Linked DNA regions of Homo sapiens: region 1 is linked to region 2. The links are contacts of gene promoters, found by promoter capture Hi-C in blood cells and fetal thymus (Javierre and others, 2016). All regions are on one chromosome and are shown on one strand. The core of a region is centred on a gene start or on the middle of the fragment in contact, and the rest is flanking DNA. Distances in the headings are between cores, read along the strand shown.

Region 1 (3,024 bases), core at 24-2,523, 1.2 Mb after region 2:
TTTCTTTTCTTTTTTTTTTTTTTTTTGAGCCAGGGTCTCGCTCTGTCACCCAGGCTGGAGTACAGTGGTGTGATCGTGGCTCACTGCAGCCTCAAACTCCTGGGCTCAAGCCATCCTCCCGAGTTGCTGGGACTACAGGTGTGAGCCACCACACCTGGCTGGATATACTTTCTAATATGCTTAAAGAAGTACACAGTTTAAACAAAAGAAAGGAAGTCAAAAAAATCTGAACAAGTAGTTTAGTGAAGAATCACGGACGAAGATACTAAAGGATATAATATTTTATACAAAGCCCAGTGCTCAGTTCTTGGCATCCAGTGGGGATCAATAAAAGCTAATTCATCATTAGGAAAATGCTGACAATGACAGACAGGAATGAAACTCCCATTCCCAGGTTTCTACGCTTCTGTGTCATTGGAAAATTGTAGGTAAAATGTCATACAATTAGGCCTCACTTAAAACAAAATTGAGAATGAATACTGGTTATAATAGGGAAAGAAGCATTTGTATCTCAGTTAGAGGTACTTAGAAATGGTCTGGTGAATTTTAATAGGAGAGCACAAAAGCTGTTCTAGTTCTTTCTAGTAAGGTGGTAAGAAATTTAAAAAGAAAATTCCTGTTTTTGACTGAAGATATAAGACCTTTATCATAATTCTCTGACCCCATGGACAGGGCCTCAATGCAGAACCAACAGGAAAGTTGTAAGTGCCAGGCATTTCGTTACTCTGTTTAGGTTCATGCTATTTAAGATTTGGGACCTCTAGCACCAAGGACATCTCCAAGATGTGTCCCAGAGGAATGGCAAAAGTATTTTAGGAACCTAGCAGTCTCAGGGACAAGTCCTAGTATACAGAAAGCAGTACAGGAAGTAGAGGTAGGCAGATTTGGTTTGGATCCTAACAGCAAATTACTAGTTGTGTACCACGGAACAAGTCAATTAACCTTTTTAAGGTTCACTTTCCTCATATATAAAATGAGTTTAATACTCTGAGGGACTGCTGTGTAGATCAGAGCACGCACACACACAAGCATGCATGCATACACACTCCATTTGGTAGAGTGTCTAATGGTTAATAAATAGTAGAACTACTATTAGGATAAGCTTTGTTCTGGAACAAAAAAATGTCTTATACTAAAACAACTCCAGAAACTAACATAAGCAAGGTACAGCATCCCCATAGCTTTTCCAGGCTTAGGACTGGATTTGGAATATTACCCTAGCCAATGAAGAATTATAAAATTACTTTATATATTAGAGAAAAAAAATGTAAAAGGCAGGGCAAGGAAAGGAAGCATGAAGAGACAGAGGCCTGAACTTACGTCGTTCTTCTCTATGCCTCTCGGTCTCTGCAAAGTACTGGCGGAGCTCTTCAGTGATTTCCATATTGCTCAGGTCACATTCTACCTCTGCATCTGACTCAGTCTCCATCTCTTCCTCTTTGGACAAAGCTTGGTCTTCTTTTGTGGATGCCTGGATCCTACTGCTGTAACGTGGATGCTGCCCAGATCTTCTGAAATGTGAAGAACTGCAGGGGTAGTCCTGCCAGGCCACATGATGGTCATAGAAGGACTGAGGATACGCAGCCTCATTATCGTAAGAGCTTTGGGGAAGAAGCGCAGAAGGTAAGTACCATGGAAGATTGAAACAGGATTCCACGGCCTTCCTGTAGGCATTGTGATGGCTTTGCATCCAAGCCATTGCTTGATGATAATGTTGCCAGTATCTTGCATATACCGGATGAGAATACCAAGGCCTGGTAGCTTTCGATGTTGATGCCTACAAAATGAAAGGAGGTGGAGGGTGGACACCAAAGTGTTTATTATCCTCAAGAGAAATCTTCAAATGTTTAATCTGCTACCCAACAGGTATTTACTTAGTATTTGCTAAATACCTACCTACATGAGGAGGCTACTGGGCCCAAAATATTGTGTGAGATAGGTCCAGGCCCACAGTGGACACCAAGTGTATGCACACTTGCTAAGTCCATGTACATAAGGTATGCACAAGCCAGCCAATTAAAGCTATGGAGCATTATAATGTGGGGATGAAGGCTAGTGATCGTTTCTAGATGAGACGCAGGGAGAGAGAAGACTGGATGTTTATCACCTTAGCCCTCTCTACCCACTGTAATTAAATGACTACTGCCAACTGAGCAACGGCCTGCTAAGAACCACACTAGACTGACAAGCATGACAGACTTTAGTTTTTCCCTTTCTGCCCCCTAAACTAACTTGCTGGCCTGAGCCACCCCTAAATGCCTGGGGTAAGAGATGTCTAGGAATGCACCCAATAGTGCTTTTACTTTTGTATTTCTTAGGTCTTCTCCATCGTGCAATGAGAATACCAAACTTTAAAGACTAAAATTTACCAGCAAACTATCGCAAGGACAAAAAACCAAACTCCGCATGTTCTCACTCACAGGTGGGAATTGAACAATGAGAACACATGGACACAGGAAGGGGAACATCACACACCAGGGACTGTTGTGGGGTGGGGGGAGGGGGGAGGGATAGCATTAGGAGATATACCTAATGTTAAATGACGAGTTAATGGGTGCAGCACACCAACATGGCACATGTATACATATGTAACTAACCTGCCCGTTGTGCGCATGTACCCTAAAACTTAAAGTATAAAAAAAAAGACTAAAGTTTACCTTTTTTACTTACGAGCTCAAAAAAAAAATAAAAAAATAAAAATCTTACCTTTACCGCTGCCATCTCTGATTGTGAAAGTCCAAATGGGTGCTGAAACTAGGAAAGAAGAATCACAGTGCAAACGTCTGATCAGTATGGCTGTGTGATATTTGTGGCTATTCTATGGTTTGTGAGGCAGCTCCCAAGGAACTGCCTCTTCCCAGGACCATGCCTGATTTCATGCAACCTATCTATATGACGTTGGTTCCTGGGCTATAACTTTGTGGTCTGAAAAGGAGGGATCCACTTAGGTTTGATTAAGTGGGTCAAAAGATCCTGCATGGTTCAATTACTTATTTCCCTATAGGAAGTAAAGTCTATGAAAAT
Region 2 (3,157 bases), core at 143-2,642:
CTTGCAAAGTACAAGGACCCAGATGAAAAATCCCAATGATGCGAATCATCCCTGTAATCTCCCAAATCCCATTATGAAGTCTGATTAGAGTAGGCTACAACCCAATTGCAAGTGGGCTTTGCTGTTGATGGAGAGCCAATTCGTGGCAAACATTAGTAAAACCAAGCCATTTATCTACCCGGTTGAATCAGCCTTTGTTGAGGAGTGTGAAACTGTGACCAGCATCACCAACCAGCCCTCTATAGACAGGGACTGCTTTCCTTTCTCCTACACTTGGTTTGTGCCCTGAAGTTGGCTCTGGTACTGCATTGGCATCTTGAGAAAACCTTTTTGCTGGTTTCTAGCAGGAAAGAGAGGAAGGAGGCCCTGACTCCAGGGATGTGGAGGGACTGAGCTGGATTGTCTAGGGAGATCTGTGTTCCTGGGATCAGGCCCTTGAGCACCCAACAGGCAGAAGGTTGTGAAGTGCCCCAAGGACCATCACATCTACCGAAAAATGGTGAATCTGGGGGACTTGGTTTGATCCAGTGAGCCACCAAGAGCAATACTTCCCCTCAGCCTGTGATGAGGACTCACATAGTGGTTGGATTTTTTAAGGACACATGGTGCAGGGGCAACTCTGTAGTTCAGGGGTCATCAAGTTTGAACTATGAGGGACCACATGGCCAATATTTACATTTTGCAGACCAAGCAAGAAAAGGGAAGATATTACGTAGGAACTTACATAACAAGAGAGAAAAAATTGTCACAATGTTTTTATTGATATAATCCAAAATACGGTAATATTTGAGTACAATTATTTGCAACTCACATCTATTAATGAGAGAAAAGGAATTCTTTTGCGGGGGGGATATTTCTCTTAATTGGAGTTCAAAGGCGGTGTCTGCTATCATCACATAAAGTGCAAATGTTCATGTATGAAAACCATGCTTAGCTCTCTGGTACAAACACAGGGAGCTCTCGCGATCTGGCCCATAGGCTGTAGTTTGCAGACCCTTGCTATAGCTGAACACCAGTCGCCCACACTGGGTTTGCGGTGTTCCGGGGTGGGAAGTCGCTCCGGGCTGCGAAGCACCTCGAGGGATCCCCCCGGCCCGAACTCTCCCTCTGTGCCCAGCTAACCGCGGTTCATTGGCTCTCCCCGCGAGGCAGGTCTGGAAGATCAAGAATGAAGCTCGGAGCTCTCTCGCGGAGCAAGGACACCTTCGGGCTTCAGGACCACCCAGGGCGTCCAAAACTGCTGCCAGGGCTGTGCCCCCGCCCCCCGGCACTTTCCAGCTCCCCCTCCACGCCCGCTCTTCCTCCCTCTCTGCCCCCTCTAGCTCCTCCTCCGGCTCCTCCCCCTCCGCTCCTCCCCTTCCCTACATCTAGCCGCCGCGCTTTCCCGCTCCCGCAGCAGCAGCCTCCCGCGTCGCTGTCGCTGTTGCCTCCGCCACCTCCTCCGCCGCCGCGCGCCCCTCGGAGTTCCGCGCCCCACCATGCCCAACATCGTGCTGTTCAGCGGCAGCTCGCATCAGGACCTGTCCCAGCGCGTGGCCGACCGCCTGGGCCTGGAGCTGGGCAAGGTGGTCACGAAGAAGTTCAGCAACCAGGAGACCAGGTGGGGGCCGCGCCGGCGGCCGGGCTAGGGAGAGCGCTGGGCACGCGGCTGCGGGGCCGGGTTGGGGGCCGGCGCCTGCCCGGGCCACCTCCGCGGACGCCGCGCTCCCCCTTCCGGGGCGGGACGGTGGCAACGCGGCCTCCGCGCCCCCGCGCCCGCGCCTGCGAAGAAACCGAGGCGGGGCGCCGCGCGTCCCGATGCGCGCCTCGGCTGTGCCCCCGGTTGCAGGGCCTCCGGTCCTGGGACCGCGGCGACCCGGCGGTCCCGAGCCGCTCCCGGCCTCCCAGCGGTGCCGCCCGGCCTGGCGTCCCCAGCCCGGAAGGGAGACGTCTGGGCGGTCACAGACCGTCGGGGAGAGAGTGGGCGCAGCGGGCGGGAACCGCATCGGGTCAGCGCGCGGTGGAGAGACGTCCTGGGTTGGCTGGTCCCAGTTTCCGCGTCCCTACAAAGCTGAACCTCAGACCAGTGCGTGCGACTAAAGGTTTCCCCCCGTCCCCAACTCTGGTTGCACGCTGGGTTTACCTGGGGACGGTCCGAACGCTGCTTCCCCCGACCTGCCCCCAAGGGTTTGATCCAACGGGCGGAGGATCAGCGATTTTACAAGCTTCCCTGGCTTCTCCTGAGCAGCCAGGGCGCAGACCACTGCGTTATCCAGAGGGTGCAGTTGTGCCAAGGTTTGAAAGACTGTGAGAACCCCAGGACGCACGTGCTGGGCTCCCCTCTGCTCCCACTACTCTTGCTGCTTTAAAGATGATGGACTTTCAGCTTCCTTCTTGTTCTAGGACTCTGCTGTGTCCAGCAACAACGCCGTGATTCGACTGTAACTTTCACCCATTTCTCAAGTCCAGGAGAGCCTCAGGTGGTGGCCATCCTCGGAAGCTGACCTGGGGGGCTCCTTTGTCTATCTGCCTGAGTCCACACAGCTCCTTGACTCATTTCAAATTGGTCTCATTTTTCCCCCTTCTTCCTCCAATGTCTAGTACCGTTAACTGTCCACAGTTACTGATAATTTTTATATCTTTGGCAAAGGTTCAATTTTACCAACATTTTCTAGAAATGGTGTTGGAACAGTTGGACACCCATATGCCAAAAAATATGAACTTCCATCCATACTTTTCACCATTTGTAAAAATTAACTTTGAAGTGGATCATAGACCTAATTGTAAAATCTAGAACTATAAAATTTCTAGCAGAAAATCTTGACTTGGGGTTAGGCAAAAATTTCTTAAGGAGGAGTTATGTTAATACTGATGGGGAAGATGCTATATTTTGGCAAGTCAGCTTTTTAGGATATGTGAATCTTACGTGACTTCTTCCAGGTGGCAAATTCCAGTTATGGCTCCGATGATAATATAAGCGAAGAAACATTGTGAATGAGTGGCAGGTGGACTTTGGCTAAAGAATTCCACTCTGCAGTGTTTAATGCAGAAGTCTGAGAGGATGGTCTAGGGCTCTGGAGAAGGATAGAGCTAGGTTTGAGTGTTGCAGTATTTTGCCAGTCTTGTTCAAGTTTCAGTCGCTGTAAGAACACGAGAAGAAGAATAGTTTTTGTTCAGA

What was found. The method cuts DNA at HindIII sites, captures the fragments that hold promoters and counts their contacts. A CHiCAGO score of 5 or more calls a contact.
Region 1: a fragment that was not itself captured here is called in contact with the fragment with the promoter of PRPS2 in region 2 in 1 of 17 cell types (activated CD4 T cells); the score reaches 5.8 in activated CD4 T cells.

Annotation. Positions count from the first base shown.
Region 1 is chrX:14,018,758-14,021,781 of GRCh38, forward strand. GEMIN8 (gem nuclear organelle associated protein 8) reads right to left here. Exons shown (of 5, transcript NM_001042479.2): 3 at 2,707-2,754; 4 at 1,321-1,777. The coding sequence starts at 2,721. Among named protein-coding and RNA genes, the nearest start is that of GEMIN8, 9.6 kb to the right of the region's middle. The HindIII fragment of the contact is 347 bases long and covers 1,101-1,447 here.
Region 2 is chrX:12,790,020-12,793,176 of GRCh38, forward strand. PRPS2 (phosphoribosyl pyrophosphate synthetase 2) reads left to right here and starts at 1,393. Exons shown (of 7, transcript NM_002765.5): 1 at 1,393-1,600. The coding sequence starts at 1,479. RefSeq lists a silencer at 1,649-2,098. The HindIII fragment of the contact is 8,457 bases long and covers 1-2,202 here.